Regions from separate parts of the Homo sapiens genome. Here regions 2, 3 and 4 are each linked to region 1. Evidence: promoter capture Hi-C in human tissues and cell types (Jung and others, 2019). All regions are on one chromosome and are shown on one strand. The core of a region is centred on a gene start or on the middle of the fragment in contact, and the rest is flanking DNA. Distances in the headings are between cores, read along the strand shown.

Region 1 (4,553 bases), core at 888-3,387:
TTTCTCCCTGTGCATGCACTCCTCCCTGACGCCCCCTCACCCCACCACACAAAGTCTGTGAGTCCTTTTCACCATATGCTTCTCTGGTTAGTAACACAAGTGTCCTAGCACGTACATTCATGTGTCCACCCAATTCTGTGAGTACCTTCCTAACAATACACTCACCTCTGAGCCTCCACTGCTGTTTACAAATACCCTATCATGTGAGTTCATTTTCTATCCAAAGCGTGCACAACTAATGCCTTCCTCTGTGTGCACACTTATGGGGTGGGGGGGCTCTCTGAATACACTCCCAGTAAACCAGGGTTCACACCTCTCCTGCCGCTCTGCCTCAGACTCTGCCTTCGCTCTATGTATTTAAAGTGCCTGGCACTAGTGGGAGCTCAACAGATGTCAATTCTTTTCCCCACTTTTAGCTGAATAACTATGTGAATCTGTGTCTCGGTGTCCTTCTGCCCCTCTGTCTGTTGTACGAGACCGGTTGGAGTGTGTTCCTCAGTACCGAACGGGCTATTTGTAAGATGCCCCGTGGGTTCTATCTCCCTTCCGACTCTCTCCTCTCCTGTAAAACGTTACAGGTTCCCCCATATGGCATATCCCTCCCTCACGCGATGTATCCACTCCGGTCTCCCACAGTACTGCATGTCCATAAACTGTTTCCCCATGCACCCTGGTTACCGCGTCCCTTCTCGGTGCTTCCCTGTCTCTCCCATTTTTTTTCCAACATGAAAGCGTCTGGATTTGTAGTCCAATTACAGTGTATGTGCGCCTATCTGAGCCTCTCTCTGTACTGGAGGGGTGTGTGTGTATATGTGTGTGTGTGTGTCCATGGGCTTCTCTCGAAAACGAGGGGTGAGAGGCCCGAGTCTCTGCCCGGGATGCATTGTATCCTCCCCACACCTTCTGGCTCTGGCTCGTTCCCCGTTTACACTTCCCAGAGTCAGCCCAAGACGCCGGGAGCTTTTTCGGGTACGTTGAGCGTCCGTGAACCTCTCTCTCCAGAACCCGATGTCTTGCTCCCGGGGAGCGCTAAGTGTGCGTGAGTCCTCAGGTCTCTCCCCAGGGCACTGTGTTGGTTTGTGTCCGTCCTGGACGCGGCGCGTCTCCAGTAACGCGATGCGCCGGTGTCCCGGAGTCCCTGGGAATGCAGGTGTGTCCCCTCCCCCCCCGTACGCGAAGCGCCAGTGTCCCCGCCGTTCCAGTGTGCGCCGCCCCCTTACACGGACTGCCTAAGTCCCTATCTCTATGAGTACACCGTGTGCCCCTCACCATGCGCCCGAGTCCCCATCCCTTCGAGCACACAGTGTGTCCCCTGATACGTGGAGCGCCTGTGTCCCCAAGTCCCTGGGAATACAAGGTCCCACCCCCACACGCGGAGCGCCTGTGTCCTGTCTCTGAGGATCCACCGTGCCTATGTAACTGGAAAACGCGGGCAGCTGGTGCCCGCGAGTCGTCCCTGGTTCCTTGCCCATACGCTGCTCGCTACCCTCCTTCCCCGCCGAGGGTAGCGTGGTCATCTCACTTCTCTTATCGGGGCCTCTCTCCCTCCTTGGGACCCAACAAGCCAGGAAATCCTCGGGGGCCGTCGGAAAGTCCCGCAGCGGCAGCGCAGCCGACCCAGGGCTGCGGCTGCCTCGGCCCCGCCGCCAGGGGCCGCCCGACTGCCCGCTTCCCCAACGCCCAGGCTAGCCCGGGACCGCGGCGTCAGCCACCCTGCCCGGCCCTGCCCTGCCTGGCCGCTGCGGGCGCTGACGGTAGCAGCTGCCAGCCACGGCTCCGCCGGCCCCGCACCCGGGCGCGGCCAGGCCGTGAGGGGTGCGCTCTGCCTCTCTGAGCCCAGCCTGCCGGCCGGCCCGCTCACCTTGTGGCTCTGGTAAGTCTCGAGCGCCCGGATCGCCGTCTCGGTGAGCTTCACATGCAGTACGGTGATGTTGTCCTGCCCCAGCCGTCCGCACGACAGCCCATAGCGCTGCTCCTCCCGCAGGCCCCCTGTCCCCCCCGCCGCCATCTTAAACTCCCCGGGGTGCCGCCGCCGCCGCCGCTCCGGCTCTAGCCTCCACTGCGGCCGCGGCTGCTTGGGCTTCTGCAGCCGCCGCCACTGCTAGGGCCATCCCGCTGCTGACGTACTGTCATATACTGCGCGGAGCCAGACCTCGGACTGCCACCGCCGCCACCCGCCCCACCCTCCGGCCCCGCGCCCCGCCCCGGGCTCGTCTCATTGGTCTTGTTCCCTTCAGAACCGCCCTCATCGGCCGCCCTCCACTCTCACGGGGGCGGGCCCAAAGTCACTAGAGTTTTGCTCCTGGGACGGGACGTCCGAGAGGTAAGAGGCTGACGTCTAGGTGACGCGCCAACTTAATCATGTCTGACGTCACGTCTGGTCGTCTTGGCTAGCCGGCCGAGATTGGCCAGGCTGGCTTGGGGACTCCCCTGCTAATTGGAAGTCCAGGTTGCCTGGTCTGGTTACCTGGAGTTGGAGCCCCGCCCCTGTGGGGGATAGTAGTGAAAAGTCAGAATTGGGGAATCTCGCCCTACGCGGGTGGTCCTTGGAGAGGAGGATCTCCACCTCCACTATGTAAGGGGATGGCCGTGACCAAATAAGGACTTTGTTCCCCGACGGCTGCGGAAGCTGTGGAACTTGGTGCGTGCGTGTGGGGGAGGACGCAGCAGGAGGACTCGCTAGAGAGCTGCTCCTCAAAACTCCTAGTACTGTAGTTGAGCAAACGGCATTGGGAGGAAACTGCTCACTCTAAACTTGAAGTTATCGGGTGCCACACGCAGAGCTTATAAAAACAAAAACAAAAACAAAAACCCTTGAAATTAGTGAGTCGACTCTTAGATGTAGGAGTTGTGTTAGATCTTGTGGAGCATCTTAAGGACAAAATCACGCGGGAGGTTAAATGCCTTTCGTATGGTGGGCATGGTATAATAGAGAATTGAGCTTCGAGGTCTTTCCTACGCCATGCCCTGTTGTGATTCTCTGGGATCACAACTGGTGGGGATGATATCTCCTTAAAAAGGACTCTAGAAGAAGAGTAAAACTGGCATTGATCTAAATTAAAAGAAACCTCGACAATTCTCATTCTCTAATTCAGTTTGAGTATTGTCCTTTTTATTTGATAGGGCTGTGTGAAAACCTAGCTAGGGTTTAAAGGTAAGAGGCTGTCGAGGTTAAGCGAAGGAGATGGGGGCGTGAGGGGCGTGCAAAGGCCTGGCATACTTTCCATTCCATCCACAGGATGCTTCCTGTGTAGGCGTGGCTAAAAGAGGGAGCCTAATCTGGAGTCCCTTTCAGATTGTGTGTGGATAGACTGACAGATGGGTTCCTGTCAGAGGATGGATTAATTGGTTGATCAGAAACACCAGATAAAACAAACCATTGAAAGCTTTCAAACTGTTGAAAGGCAGTTTAAAAAAGTTCTTTTAATAAAAAAACTGAGACGCTTGTTTTTACCCTCAGCTTATAAAACCATGTTCTGTTCTACTGGGATTCCCCGGGAAAGTTTATAGATATTTAATCAGTATTTTTCATTATTTTAAATGGATTAGGGCCATGATTCCATGTCCTCCCCTCCCAATAAATGCCTTCCCCACCGTACGGGTACACTCCTTTTTGATTCAGACCTTCAAACATAGTAGGTGTATAATGTGAATTACAGAATGAATTGGATTAAGTGGAAACACCTGTATTAAGTGTTACTCCATCACAGGAAAACAGTTTGTAAATTGACTTAATTTCAATCCACTAAGATTGGCTAGCTGTTAAGACGTGATTAACGCTTGCTAATTTCATTTACTTTAGTGATACAGTGTTATCTTAAATTCATGTAGTAGAGATATTAAGGTAATCATCAAATTGGATTAAAAAGTTTACTCTTAGAAGGGAAATAGAGGCTTTACTACCTAGTTTTCTCCGCTTTCCAAAAGTAGAAACCTTATTCAAATAGTTCATCTCTAAGCGGACTATAATCTAAAAATAATTCTGTACTTGAACTTTTCTTTTCTCTCTCTCTTTTTTTTTTTTTTTTTTTGATAGTAAAGGACTGAGCACATAGCTAAAGCCTTAATTATTTGGGAGGTGAGGGGGAAGGGAGGTTTGACCGGAACAAGTAAAACCTGTATCCCACTGCTTTTCCGGTGAATGTGGGTAAATCCCCACCCACATGATATCCTAACTTGGCCTACTCTTACTCAGAATTTCTGATGACATCCAAGCGGGTGGGGGAGGAGTAAGGATGGTTTTCGTTGTAGTTTTCAAATATCTGACCTGTAGCTTCTTACTAGTAATTGACTTTTTTTAAAAATTATAATAGGAAAATTTTTCTCATGCCCTATTTTAGTGGGTAACAAATCTTTCACGGATTAATATATTATTGTAGTGAGTTAATGGTTGTTTGTATTTTTCCCCTTTTGAGCTTTTCAACTGTGGAAGGAGGAAATGATCAAGTACAAAGTAATATGGTAATCTAGCAGTGTCTTTTCATTGATGTCTCACAGGCATAGTACACATTACGCCTGCCTGAATCAGATGGTCAAGTTATGATGCTGGTTAG
Region 2 (4,475 bases), core at 1,976-4,475, 410 kb after region 1:
CCCTTCCCTTTCCTTTCTGCTTTTCCTTGGAGTTACTAATTACCAATTTTTAAAAATTGTTTGAATTTCTATAGAATTGGCTGGGCACGATAGCTCACTCCTGTAATACCAGCACTTTGGGTGGCCAATGCGGGTGGATCACCTTAGGTCAGGAGTTCGAGACCAGCCTGGCCAACATGGTGAAACCCCGTCTCTACTAAAAATACAAAAATTAGCCGGGCATGGTGACACATGCCTGTAATCCCAACTACTCAGGAGGCTGAGGCAGGAGAATCCTTTGAACCCAGGAGTTGGAGGTTGCAGTGAGCCAAAATTGCACCATTACACTCTAGCCTGGGGCAACAAGAGTGAAACTCCATCTAAAAAAAAAAAAAAACAAAAAAACCTATAGAATTATTCTCAAACTCCACATGTGTAAATCTCAGACACATTCAGTTCTTCCTCTTGGAGCCTTCTGATTCGCTCCAGTAGGAAGTGGCTGATCTCTCAGCCTGCTGCAGAGCTGTGAGCTTGGTATTTCTGTCCACTATCTCTCTGGGATTCTTGTTTTCTCTCTTAACAAGCTCCTGTTCCTTGGATCCTATGTTTTCTTGAATTGCTCCTTCATATTGAGAGAATATCTATTCTATTACTTTTCTGAAAAGTTTTGCAAAGTAATGTTTTTGAAATCTTGCTTGTCTAAAAATAATTTCCTTCTACCCACACCCTTAATTGGCTAGGTAAGAAATTTAAACCTGGAAAGAATTTCTCTTAGTATTTAGAAAGTGTTACTCCATTTTGTTCCTAAAGCTTGGTATTGCTGTTGCATGAAACCTGTTTTCTCACCCATTTGAAAGTGATCTTTTCTTTGTGGTTAGAATTCTGAAACTTTACAATGATTTCTCAATAATCGCTTCAATTATTTAATGATTATTTCATCCATGCACCCTCAATATTCTATATCTCTTTTTTGGACTTTTACTATTTGGATGTTGACCTTATATTGCGTTTTTATCTATATATTTTATATATTTTTTCTATTTCTGATTTCTCGTATATTTATTTAATTTTCTTTTAAATAAATTTTACTTAGTTCTTGATGGATTATTACATAAATCTCTTTATGAGTTTTTCATTTTTTATTCTCCAAATTAGCTTTTTAATATCTATAAGTATTTCTTCTCTTCTGTCTCTGAAAATATCAAACATTTTTGAAGTTTTCTTCTCCTTGTGAAATCTTTGTTTCTTCTAAGTTACTGTTTTTGCTTGTTGGCTTTGTCTTCTAACCTTCAGATTCATGGCTGAAGTTTAGAAGAAGGTCTGGCAGCCCTTAGCTGCCTCTTGGTATTTAACTATGGAGGACCAAAAAGCTTTCTCAGAAGCTGTGTGGCAAAAATTCACTCTGACGTGATCTGGCTGGTTGTTTTGTTAAATGAAAGCCAAAGGTAATTCCTTTAGATCTTTTCTCTTGGGAAGATGATCGTAGAAGAATATGAGAAGACCTTTTAATCTCCTTTCTGATATTTAATTACACAGCTGCCAAAAATCTGAAATCCAAGTAAGGAAATGTGGCTGAGAGTCTCAACATTCAGTAGGTACATTTTACTCAATTCTCCTTGTTTTAGTATGCCACTCCTCCCCTCAAGTGACTCTTTGTCTCTTTATTCCGTTTTATTTTCCTTCTAAGCTCTCTTCACTGCATGACCCACTATATTTTCATCTCTTAGTCTATTTTTGTCTTCAATTAGAATGTAAAGTCAATAATAACAAGTTTTATTTTTCTTCACTGTTGTATCCCCAATGTCTGACAGCTATGCTTTGCACATAGTAGCTGCTCAATAAAAATGTATGTCATGACTTAGGTTAAATAATATGAAATTTCTGCTATTCATCTGGTTTTGAACTTCAAAATGGAAATCTCTTACATTTCAAACTGAATAAAAGAGGATCTGAATGGCTAAGGATTATCACCATTTTCCTTGTGATATGAAACTCATTATAGGAGGTATTAATATATTTTATAGTTTATTATATATAATTAATTTAAAAAATAGTAAATGGAGAAATACAAACTCAGAGAAGTTAAATGTCTTGCTGACTTGCCTAAGATTACACAATATTAGGCAGTACTGTAGTAGAACCAGGACCAGAATTTTGTATGTACCAGGCACTGTTAGAGATTCTGGGGATGAAACAGCGACTGTAATAGACTTCTGGGTATTTCTAGGAGTAAGAGAGACAAAAAAGAAGCAAGCAGCTGTAACAGGGTAGTGAATGAAATTGTTCTTACTTTCTTGAAACTTTAAGCGTCCCAAACTGAGGACAATATGCAATATGGAACCTCATAAACTAAAGAGCAACATGGAGCTGCCAAACACCCCTTCAGGGCCAGACTGGTTCTTTAATTTTCACCCCCCACAACTGCATCCAACCTGTATACACAGAAAACTGAAATTCACAGGCATAGCAGCACTGATTCACAGTAAGGGGTAGGCCTGGAAGTCAACAGTACTGTTGCTTTATTCCAGCTCTCTTCATATTCACGGTAGGGATAGGAAGAGTTTGGATTGTAAGTGCCTAGCCTGCCTGCTTGGACTACACTGTGCAACTGTTGCTTCAGAGAGACCTGATGTGGTGGAATTATGAGAAAACATGTAAAGCAAATCCACAAGCAAAACAATAGAAGAAAGCACATCTAATTCCTATTTTGCCCGTAGAGAAACTGTGAGTAAACTTGAGGTGCTGTCTTAGGGATTCACCTGTTTATGATATAACTCAAATTGGAGAGCTCCCCAACTATGTAGACCTAAATGAAGCCAAGTTAATGTCCACAATACACTCATTCACACTTCCAATTCCGGGTACCTATCTTTACATTTAAAGGAAATGAAGAACATCCGTTAGCAGATGGTAGTCTACATAAGGGCCCATGAAATACACCTGTGTCTTGCAGACCCCAGTTACAAAGGAAACAGCTGTTGACCTGGACCAGCATTTGTTAGTTTTCCATTAGCTCATAGTGTTCACTAGGCCATCTGTAGCATGGAACTAAGTAAATGGAGTCACTTTTCTATGGTTGGCTCATTTCCATAGCTCATTATGTAGGAAGGCTGATAAAGCATTATTGTGCCAAAGCATTAAAAAACTCAAGTTCTGGAAAAGTTTCCAGAAAGGTCATCATTAACAGGGCTAGTCAATAAGCTCCCCACCTCATGTAGATGCTGTACTAATCCTGTGATAGCCCATGGGGGAGGAGACCTCTACTTGAATCGCTGTCAACTGTTGATGAGGAATGGGGCAGAGGCTTAGCATATTCACATTTATTTTCTGATAGCACACTTCCTGCCCTCTCTACCTTTCTTCCTTTCTTCTTCCAGAAACATTTATTGTCACTGACATGGAGATGAAGTATTTTGAACGCTCAAGGTGCAAAATTAAACTTTCCTTTCATTATCTTCTATTAGGAGGCTCTCTGTCTCTTTCACTCACTGGACTGTAAATCACAGGAAAGAAGGAACCATTCTGGGTGTTGGGTTCTTGTTACCTATCATACCATCTGGCACATAGTAGGTGTTCAATAAATACCCATTGGTTGAAAGTATGAAAAAGGAATTTTGATCATGAGCCTAGACAACCAGTCTATACTGGTCTTTAAAAGCACTCCAGATTTACAGGCTGAAAATGGGATTAAAAATCCAAAGACAAACAGAAGAAAAAAACCTTAAACACAGCAGGATTTATGACCATTACAGAGCTAAAAGTACATTATATTCTAATACTAAGGCAGTATACCAGGCTGCCTTTGTTATCATTCATATAAACTCCTCTAGCTCACTTTCTGATTTTTCCTTCCAATAATTTGCCCTTGATTAACTTTGTTTTTTTAAACTAACATTTATTAAGTACCAATATTGTGCAGAAATGCTGTGCATTTGTTTTCTCCTGTAAATTACATGAAGCAACGTTCACCCCAATTTTGGAAATGGGAAAAATTGAAGCTCTCAGAGTTTAAGTAAGTTCTCACAGGTAGTAAATAGAATGGCTAGGATTGGAACCCAGGTTTATGGGCTGCTACAACACAGTTTGTTAAATATCAGGTGGCTCCTTCAGTGTTCCTTGCTATATACCTCACCCTTTTAAATTCCATTTTGGAAAAAATTCCTGAGAACTCTGTTCTTCAGTCCTTTATTTGTTTTTCTTTTGCCCATGAATCTGATTACATATAAGTTATACCCATGACCTTCAGTATTTTGCCAGACCTTGGCCAGGGGTGGCTCTTCTAGCCAATGGATATCATCATGGTGGTTGCCCTCGGAAGACATGAGAACCTGCAGGAGGAGGACTTTGGAAATTTGGAACCCATTGGCCCAGGGAAAGAGCTGAATATTTCTAGGGAGGCCAGACCCACCAGGGACTGCTGCATTGGTCATAAATGTAATACCATGGGACTTAGGCAGAGAACAAGCAAGCCTGATCCCAGAGTTGAGGAATAGCCA
Region 3 (4,991 bases), core at 1,098-3,597, 450 kb after region 1:
TTTTGCACTTGCTCATATTTTTCCACCCTTCTCTTAGTTTATGTCACTGCACTTAAATCTTTGAACTTCCTCTCTTTCTTTCTGCTTCAATCTTCTGGCTGACTGATAGAATGACAAAATTAGGAATTATTCAGATCTGCCTTGCAGCTGCATTAAAAGGGACTCTTCAATTGAATGGAACTCGTCAAAGCCGCCCTTTCTATGATTTTTCAATTTGTGCTCTCCAGAGTTTCTACTTTTGTTTCATCTTATGGAGCACAAGGCTTTAGAATCTGTGCAAGAATACAGTAAACCCAAGTGACAGAGCAATCCAACCAAGGCACAGGTATTCAACAGGCACGTGCAGAGCAGAAGGCAACACGTTTCTATATTTGAAAAGCATTTCCGCGCTTGGAAGAAGACTGAGTAGTTTTTTACTAGTGTAAAAACCCAAAAGCAGCAGGAAAATGAGTAAGGAGAAAGAAATGTCCAGAAGCACTTTTAAAATAAATATGCTAAAAGTAATAAATTTCCATTCAACCTCAGACCCAAATAGGGAAAATTCATTTTATTTATTTATATTTAGTTTTGAGGCAGGGTCTCACTCTGTCACCCAGGCTGGAGTGCAATGCTGCAATCTCAGCTCACTGCTACCTCCGCCTTCTGGGTTCAAGCAATTCTTGTGCCTCAGCCTCCCGAGTAGCTGGGACTATAGGCATCTAAGTTGAGACCACAGTTTCACTGTCTAAACTAGGTTGCAGAACAGTGCAACCTAGTTACACCTGGCTAATTTTTGTGTTTTTAGTAGAGGTGGGGTTTCTCCATATTGGCCACTCCTGGCCTCAATTGATCTGCCTCCCTTGGCCATCGCGCCTGGCCACAAATAGGGAAAACTTTCTTAAGCCTTAACTCCCATCCCTCTGAAGAATGATTTGGCCCTCTAAGTGCATTTAAAATTGTAAAGGACTTTGTTAAGAAATCCACAACAATGTTATTCCATGTAACCTAAGTGTTCTTTCCTTCTCCTCATATCCAGATGGTCAGGTTTCATTTCATGTGGGTCTGTGTAAAGCATCTTACCTGTTTGACACCATATTCAAAAGCCTTCTGGGCTAGCCGGCCAGGCCCCTCCACAGTTTTCCCATCATCATTAGGGCCCCAGCTTGCACTGTAAATATCCACGTGTCCAGGATTGAATCCAATTGAACTGGCCTCAATAGCATCCGTCACAATGCCATCCAGCATTCTTATGCCTGAGAAACAAAATAAACAAAGACACACAAAGGTTGATGTCAGTATGTACATGGACAAAAGCCCAATACTCTTACTATTTGTATTTTTAAAGGATTTTAAGAGTCAAAAACCAGGTAACTACTAGATAGATGTCCCCAATTTCTGTAACCCAGCTACTGACACCACAGAAGGAAGGAACATGTTGCTGCCCCCATAAGCTTTTTTGTCGCACTTTAGAGATAATACTATGCAATACCATGCACTGTGTAGGCAGCTGTGATGTTTTTTTTTTTTTTTTTTTTTTTGGTCCCACTCAAGGCTCTCTTCCCAGCAAAAGCTCTGGGCATTGAGTCTGAAGTGGAGCAGCATCCTTGGATGAGAGGAAGTGGCCGTGATTGTTGTCAATTACAAAATGTTTGCCCTCCCTCCCACCCCAACTAAATGACAGACCAGCTTTCAGAAAGACCCTCCAAGCAGCCCTCTGGTGATGCACCTCCTCATGGCTGTCCCACAAATGGCTGTGGCCCAGTCTACGCCACACAAGGACTCTGGACAGGAAACATGTAGCTTCAAAAGATCTAGTCACAACAGGAAACTAACAAATAGGGAAAGCACTTTTGTTTCTAAGCCCTGATTAAAAATAACCCAGAGGCCATCCTTTCATGTGTTTGCTAAGAAACATTTTCAAGGAACATGCTTCCTATTCTTCTAAATAATCTCAAGGATGAAATCATTGCCATGGATTTCACCCCCAAGGGGAATCATTTTTCATCAGGACAATGTAGGTGCGGTAGCTCTTTGTGCTTTCCAACAGGCTGTCACCCGTCATCAGACTTATGAATTCAAGAGCCAGGAAGGCAAAAACAATCTGGACAGATTACAGGCAGCTACCTGGTTATTTCTGGCTTCAGGCTCATAATACAATAAAGTGCACAGCCTTAGATTTTCACACTTATTTACTATGGAGCAAAGGTAAAATGATATGAAATTGATATGATCAGTGAAAGTTGTATTTGTAAAAAAGAAATTGTTCAAAAATGCATTTAGAGCCAGGCGCAGTGGCTCATGCCTTTAATACCAACACTTTGGGAGGCCGAGGTGGGTGGATCACTTGAGGCCAGGAGTTCAAGACCAGCCTGGCCAACATGGAGAAACCCCATCTTTACTAAAAATACAAAAATTAGTCAGGCATGCTGGCACGCACCTATAATCCCAGCTACTCAGGAGGCTGAGGCACAAGAAATGCTTGAACCTGGGAGGCAGAGGTTGCAGTGAGCTAAGATTGCAACCACTGCACTCCAGCCTGGGCAACAGAGCAAGACTCTGTCTCAAAAAAAAAAAAAAAAAATGCATTTAGAAAAAAAATCGGCCAGGTGCGGTGGCTCACGCCTGTAATCCCAGCACTTTGGGAGGCCGAGGCGGGCGGATCACGAGGTCAAGAGATCGAGACCATCCTGGCTAACATGATGAAACCCTGTCTCCACTAAAAATACAAAAAAAAAAAAAAAAAAAAAAAAAATTAGCCGGGCGTAGTGGCGGGTTCCTGTAGTCCTAGCTACTCAGGAGGCTGAGGCAGGAGAATGGCATGAACCCGGGAGGCGGAGCTTGCAGTGAGCCGAGATCGCGCCACTGCACTCCAGCCTGGGCGACAGAGTGAGACTCTGTCTAAAAAAAAAAAAAAAAAATCCCAGTTCTGCTCTTACCAGCTGTGGAATCTTGGGCAAGCCAGTTAACCCTCTGTGCCTCAGTTTCTTCAACTGTAAAATAGGGATGATAATAACAGCTCATGTGCATTCATGATAGTCTATATGCAGCCACCAATCCACAGGCTTTACATGTATAAACTCATCTAAACCTTACAACCACCATTTGAGGTGGGTGCCGTAATTCTCCTCACTTTATAAATGGAGAGATTGAGGCCAGGAAGGGATAGTGACTTGCTCAAGGCCACATAGCTTGAAACTGGGGAGCCAGAATTTGAACCCTACAAATCTAGCCCCTAAATCTGTTAACCACCAGGATACACTGCCTATAATATTTGTAGAGTAACTGACATACAATAGGTGCCTAATAAATGAAGATTATTGGTAAAAAATGCATTTGGGGCCAGACCATCAAAGGATGGAGTAATGGAAAACATCAGTAGGCTTGGAATCTTGTGTTTCAGTTCTACACTGCCACAAACTTGCTTTCATTACCTTGAGCAGCTTGCTTCTGATTCTTTCTCTACAAAATGAAGGGATCAGATGATTCTTTCACAAACTATAGCTGTTTCGTTCATTATGACTAAAAGAGTGAATTCTTTTACTAGCTAATTACATAATTTGTGCTTCTCCCTTCATTTTTTTTAAAAATTAACAGAACACTTTGAAGATGTTAGTATCAAAGGAATCAGGAATGACACTTAAAATTCTAAGAGTGCCCTATATTCATGAAAGATGCATTACATGTCACGATGTATATTTATTTGGTTTCTAAAAAGAAATGCATAACCAAATGCAAGGTATACTCATGTAGAGTTTAATGGGGTTTTATTGTAATTGAAATGTTCTACAATTGATTCTTTTTGTGATTATGGTTTTTGAAAACCAAACTAAACTTGAAGCTTATAACATAACATGAAAGCCTGAGGTTGGGATAGCATAAAGAGGAGAGACAGTTTTTTCTTTTCTCTTGGCCCCTGCAGATACACTTTCCACTCTTCTCCATTAGAACATGGACTGCATCAATGGGCTCTGTCTTCCCATTGGGTTCAGCCAACTGAAGACACCAGCAAGAGGGTGGGAATCAAGAGGAGAATGAGGTGCCTATACCCCTGAATCCCCTTTGCCTAGAAGTGGCTCTGTTGTTGTACTCAAGGCCTATCCAGTGGCTCTCTCCTGTGACCACAGCTTTCCCTCTCTATTTTCTGCTGACTTCTTCCCTTTGCTCCTTGAGGCTAAAGGTGATAACATCTGCCTACCACTTCTTAGCCCCTTGTTGGTTTTCTCTAATTCTTGTAAATCGTTTCTTTATTAAAATGTCCACAGTTGCCCTAATGCAACTTACCATGTGTTTCCCCATAAGGACACTGATGAAAACAATTAAATCCTACATCCTTGCTATAAAAGATAAAATTTGGCTATTTAATATAATAAGTATGTACTTTTTTTAAATTTTGAAGCTGTTCTTCTCTATAAAGTGAAGAACTTCTACAGAATTGAGAGGCAGGAAAAGTCTTTGCCTAAATTTACCTCCTCCTTCTGTTTCCTTAGCAAGCACTCAATAACAAACCATTCTAAATCAGAACATAGAGAAAATTAGATTTGGTTCAAATGCTATTCAACATTTCCACATTTTTTTTTCCTGCAAAGATGTATAGGCTATATTCAACTATCCATTTTCTAGGAATCCATATCTATTGACTCGCTGGCAAATCATATTCAAGTCCTGTAGCAACTTTGGCATGGAACTAATTTGTTCCTCCAGTTGTTAAAAAGAAAAGCTCCCCTCCCCCATTTACAATGGGTGATGTAAGCTTCACATTAAAATGCCAAGCTATAGGGACAATCCTCTGTTTTACCTCCAACTTTGGAATTGTATGCAACTCCAACCCCGCATTTGTGATTATTTGCTTGCATGGCAATTTCTCCTGCACATCTGGTCCCGTGTCTGAGGATTGAAAAATAAGAATTATAAAACATACAGAAGAACAAACATTTGTTTTGCATATGAATGAATTAATGGGGCATAGGTATATTAACTTTTTGTCGGCCTTGTTACTGTTTTTGTTTGTTTGT
Region 4 (5,178 bases), core at 1,612-4,111, 430 kb after region 1:
CAGAAAGAAAAATGCTGCATAATGTCACTTATATGTGGAATTTTTAAAAAGTCAAATAGATGGAAATGTAGAGTAGAATGGTTTTTGCAGTGGGGTGGGAGAGGTGGGGGGAAATGGGGAGATATAGGTCAAATAGTATAATGTTGTAGTTATGTAGGATAAAAGTCTAGAGATGTGATGTACAGCATGAGGACTATAGTTAATAAAAATGTATTACATACTGGAAATTTGCTTAAAGAGTTTTCTTAGCATTTAGGTGCTTTTACCACAAAAGAAAAAAGGTAACTGAGAGAATGGATATGTTAATTTGCTTGACTGTAATCATCTTTTCACTATGTATTTATATATCACAATATCACATTGTACACCTTAAATATGTACAATCAATCAATTAATCGATTAATCAATGAAATGAAAATAGAGATATATCTTCAACTAATCCTGATGGAAAGAAGTCCTTCTGGAATTTCTGAAAGATCATTCTAGTTTTACTGAATGATTATGACTTAGGAGAAATGAATGGATTCTGGGGAAAAACCAGTTCCCAAGGGGAGAAAGGTCAGATTCTGAGATGGTGGGTCGAAATTCCAGGAATGGAAGTTTGAAGCAAGAGAGAGAAGTGGGCCTGAAGTTCAGAAATCAAAGTTGGGAATTGGGGCCTGGCACAGTAGCTGATGCCTGTAATCCCAGCACTTTGGGAGGCTGGGGCAGGTGGATCACCTGAGCCCAAAAGTTTGAGACCAGCCTGGGCAACATGACGAAACCTGTCCCTACAAAAAACACAAAAATTAGCTGGGTGTGGCGGTGCACACCTGTAGTCCCAGCTACAAGGGAGGCTGAGGTGGGAAGATCGTTTGAGCCTGGGATGTGGAGGCTGCAGTGAGCCATGATCATGCCATTGCACTGTAGTCCGGGCAAAAGAGTGAGACTCTAGCAAAAGAAAAAAAAAAAGTTGGAACTTTGAGGGTTCTAATGAGAGAACCTCTGGGAAGGATTTCACACTTAGCTGCTTTACTCTAGCCTGTAAACTAAGTCCTATTTGGTGAAATGTTGGGAATCATTTCTCTTACATGTAGTAAGTCTGTTTAGTTTAGTTTAGATAGTTTGTTCATTTCTCAACATTTCAGTTAAGGCTCAGTCATACAGCTTTGCATGTTGTCAAGAAAGTGAAGGATGGGCTAGAGAGGAAAATAAAACATACCTTGTTCAGGTAGATTCTTAAATTGACTCCAAGAAAGCCCAATTTCCTAAAAAGGAATTAACTCCTTAATGTAAACTGTCAGCTTTTCTTTTGTATAGTCCATTTGGGAAACACAATAAAAGAGGGAGATCTTGTTTGTGGTGGAAACATGAGCTTTTTTTCTTTTGACTTAGTGAGAAACAATTTATTTTTCTGATTTATAAGCATATTTTACATATTCTGGTCAATACATCAAATGTATAATGTGGAAGTTCCCTTAAGAATACCAAGACCACACATGTTAAACTCAGCTACATGTTGTATTAGGCTATTAGACAAATGTCACTTTTAATATCACAACACATACATGTACTTTTTTTCATTGACAGAGGAACATGCCTTTCAAAAATATTTTATTGGGTGAAACTTTCTTATTCTCAGGAAAACTTTTGGTTCTTTAATATAATTTATTATGCTCTTTAAAATTCTGTTTGATAAAAGCATTGGTATATTATAAATACCTGTAAAGAAAATATAGTTTAAAATTTCAAGGGAAATAGTATATAAGTTTTCTCTTTGACATTTTCACAAAAATCCACACAGGCACTAAGAAAGACTGACAAAACTGTTTTATATCTGAATATTATACTCCAGGTTGGAAACATTCAATATGATTTTATTTAAATATTAAAGCTTCTTGAGAGTGAACCTTTGGCTACAACCCAATGAGTTGGCTGGGGTTTTAACCCAGAAAATATTTTGTTAGGAAGAATCAAAAGAAAGATTTATACATCTAGCACTAGATTGGGAATGGAAAAGTAATGAGTTTTCATTCTAACTCTTTATTGGCCTTTCCGGGCCAATCTAAGAATTCTCTGGTCCTTTTTAGTTTTAATACTTTTTGATATGCTCCAATATTGGAAATTCTATCTAACACTTCATATCAAACAATATATGAAACTTCCAAGGACAGAGTGATTCCGCAAGTCTTTTAGGAGAACATTCTCTAAGCATTACGGGCATTGCTCTGCAAACACCCTCTACACAAATTCAAATGGTAGAAGAGCAGGTGAAAATTTGTGTTACCAACCATACTTCAAGCCAAAGCAAATGACAGACTCTAGTGTTCTTTTCATGAACCAGTTCAATGCCATGAATTACCTTATGAAGTTCAAACTTCATGGAAAAATTGCAAACAGCAAACTCAGTGGGAGAAAGCCAGCATTGTAGGTGACTGGAGACTTTGTAAGCATATTGAGAGAAGGAAGCCAGAAGGTTAGTAATAAATGAATTAGTATTAGTGATCATCCAGGTGAGGTGAGATTACATAAGCAAACTCATAATTATTATTGTACAGATCCTGCCTAACAGAAGATGCGGGTAGTTTGTTTTTCCTAATGCATTTACACTTTGTACACATTCGCTTAGTGTAGGAGTGGGCAAAATCAAATGCCTATTGGATACTGCCCAGCAAGGAATCAAGTGCCTGCTCTAGGTAACATGGAGCAGGGTGCCATGGGGACTGAGAGTCATCTAATCAGGCAGCTGCTACTCAGCTCCAGCTAACTGTTGCCATGAGCAAAGATGGGTCCGAGAATGAGGTTTTATGTGAAACATCATATTTTCAATAACCACTCATATTTTAAAAACATTCTGCATACCAAACAAAATCTACCTGAGGGACAATTAAGGTCCATGGCCTGCCAGTTTCTGCTTCTGATTTGAAGCTTAGGAGCAATTTGGTGAGAATTTGGACACTATCAGTGATAGGATTGGAGAAGAACTTTTAGTATCAAGGAATAAACATTCAGTTTCAAATACTTAGAACACGCTGTTCTAATGAACACAGTTGGAAAAAAACAAAAACAAAACTTCTCTTGGTTTCTCCCTATTATGAGTATTTTTCTATTATTACATTAGGTCTCCATGTGATAAGTGGTTTCCTGTTACTGCTGAAAAAAATTGTGACTAGGAATTTGCCAAGTCCCAAGTGTAAGTTTTTTTTTTTCTGGGAAAGTGGTATATATCATTTCTCCCAACATTTATTTTGTGGCTGAGAAAGGAGACAGGTATAGAAAACTTTCAGAAGGAGAAACAGAGGAAAGACCAGGCATGCAGCACGAGTCATAACCACCTCTGGATCCACGGACGCCTCTGGCACCACAGACACAGTGCACCAGGCAAAGAATGTTCGAAAATTGCTCAAACCAGAGCATTCAGATTTCAAGATCTGTTTCTAGATCTAAATAATCCAGCTTTTGACCAACATGACCAGATTTTGACTACAGGAATGAGTGGCACTTTGGAATAGAAAGATCTAGGGAATGAGTCTTACAGTGAACTCCTTCATTAGGCCTACCAAATACTTTCTTGGCATCAAAATTTGAAGAACCACATGGACAAGACAGGGAACAAGCTACAGAAACAGTTTCTGACTCCTTCTCATTCTTTGCAGATTATGTTTTCAAATTAATTGATATCCCAGGTTTTGCCTTTTCTTTTGAGAATTGAAATGGGCTCTAATGCAGTGTTCTAATGTAGTGTAAGAGCTTTTTGTCAACTGTGACTCCAGAAAGAACAAAACACTTCACTTGTGCAGACAGGAAAGATGTGTTTTGAAATACCTATGATCAATTCTGGAAGTTGAACTTCCTGCTTGAGCTCATCCCCTTCACATGTACAGTTTAGGGAGAAAAAGAAAAGGTGCCACAAAGGATATTATAAGCATAAGAATTCATGACAAAACAACCACTTCAGACACAGGCAAAATCGCAGGGTAAGGAAGAAGCATGAATATTTCCAACTTGGGACCACACACTTATTTTAATTTTCCTCATTCAGAATGTCCACCAGAGCTTGAAGCAGCCGGTCGTCTCTGTGCTTGTAAGGTTTAGTGTTATAAAAAACATCAACATAGTCATTATACAGACTGTCTTCAGAGTCTTTAAGCTGGGAAGGTTTGTTCAGCTTTTCCAGGGCTTCGTAGAAGTTTTCATAAGGGATGTTGAGCTTTGCACTTGGGGACTTCTTTGGTGATTGCTTTGGCGGTGAGTTTTTACTGAAAGCACTTTGCAGGAGTCGCAGCATGGCCTGGGAAGGGGCTCCCTCCTCCAACTCATCCCTCCGGCCCCCTACGCTGCTGCTGCTGGGGCTTTTGGACACCAGGGTGTTCTCCTTAGGGTTCTCTTGTGTGGGCTGCTCCTAAAACATAGAATGCCATCCACAAAGGGAAGAAGGTTCATTATTTATGGCCAGGCAAGCTAGTTGCAACCCTACCACAGGAACGCTGCCTGCCGCTTGAGAGGCAATGAGGGGAGGGGAGAGAGTTCAAGACTGGGAGCCACATGGACTTGGGCTTCAACCCTCATTTGCCTACCCTCTGGGGTACCTTTAACAACCTTTTTAATCTCCCTCAACTTCACCTGTCAGGTGGAATAAGAGTACCTCCATTTGTGGTGGTTTTGAAGACTAGATGAGACTGTATAGGTAAGTACTCAGTACATGGTGGTTTTCTTTACTTGTCAGCCTGCTGTCATGGAATCCATTTTGGGAAGCAGAGGATATCAAAATATCTAACAAGTCATATAGAAGGCACCCACTGGTTGCGGTAGCATGGGTGTGCCTTCCTGGAGGCACTGGCTTTCAGAACTACCCTTTTAGCCACTGAGCTGTAAGAAGTGGTCAGGGGAGAGACTGAGGTGCTAGGCTGGGGAGGAGGGAGCTGGAGAGCTCAGAGAAGCCAACCTTGGCCAACTGCTGTGGAAGTGTTTCAATATTCCAACACTGACAAGGTTAACCTGCTTCCCAGACTGTGAAGAAAAGTACTCAGGACTCAGGTCCTGGAGGGAAGCTGCTTTGAAGAATATAAATGGAACTAGAATTCAAGCTGAGGCCTTCACAGTTCATGTGTAAGTTTCTTGAATATGTACTTTGCCTCTGTATCTTCCAAAACACCCAGCTCAGAGCTGGACCTATTCAGAGCAGGGCGTTCTGAAAAT

Evidence for each region. The method cuts DNA at HindIII sites, captures the fragments that hold promoters and counts their contacts. A contact is called where the count stands out against the background at its distance.
Region 2: a fragment that was not itself captured here is called in contact with the fragment with the promoter of ELL2 in region 1 in 3 of the 25 tissues and cell types used here (bladder, liver and spleen).
Region 3: a fragment that was not itself captured here is called in contact with the fragment with the promoter of ELL2 in region 1 in 1 of the 25 tissues and cell types used here (dorsolateral prefrontal cortex).
Region 4: a contact is called between a fragment that was not itself captured here and the fragment with the promoter of ELL2 in region 1, in 1 of the 25 tissues and cell types used here (thymus).

Annotation. Positions count from the first base shown.
Region 1 is chr5:95,959,714-95,964,266 of GRCh38, forward strand. ELL2 (elongation factor for RNA polymerase II 2) reads right to left here and starts at 2,138. Exons shown (of 12, transcript NM_012081.6): 1 at 1,862-2,138. The coding sequence starts at 2,008. It overlaps LOC101929710 (a long non-coding RNA gene), which reads left to right and starts at 2,288. Exons shown (of 5, transcript NR_130776.1): 1 at 2,288-2,323. It also overlaps a transcript of CAST not described here. RefSeq lists silencers at 1,552-1,961, 2,032-2,271, 2,227-2,694 and an enhancer at 1,990-2,747. The HindIII fragment of the contact is 6,597 bases long and covers 1-4,553 here.
Region 2 is chr5:96,368,140-96,372,614 of GRCh38, forward strand. All of the region lies in intron 3 of LOC101929710 (a long non-coding RNA gene), which reads left to right. It also overlaps a transcript of CAST not described here. Among named protein-coding and RNA genes, the nearest start is that of PCSK1, 63 kb to the right of the region's middle. The HindIII fragment of the contact is 8,912 bases long and covers 1-4,475 here.
Region 3 is chr5:96,411,259-96,416,249 of GRCh38, forward strand. PCSK1 (proprotein convertase subtilisin/kexin type 1) reads right to left here. Exons shown (of 14, transcript NM_000439.5): 6 at 4,775-4,863; 7 at 1,060-1,232. All of the region lies in intron 4 of LOC101929710 (a long non-coding RNA gene), which reads left to right. It also overlaps a transcript of CAST not described here. Among named protein-coding and RNA genes, the nearest start is that of PCSK1, 19 kb to the right of the region's middle. The HindIII fragment of the contact is 3,852 bases long and covers 422-4,273 here.
Region 4 is chr5:96,388,998-96,394,175 of GRCh38, forward strand. PCSK1 (proprotein convertase subtilisin/kexin type 1) reads right to left here. Exons shown (of 14, transcript NM_000439.5): 14 at 1,336-4,381. The coding sequence ends at 4,004. All of the region lies in intron 4 of LOC101929710 (a long non-coding RNA gene), which reads left to right. It also overlaps a transcript of CAST not described here. Among named protein-coding and RNA genes, the nearest start is that of PCSK1, 42 kb to the right of the region's middle. The HindIII fragment of the contact is 5,490 bases long and covers 117-5,178 here.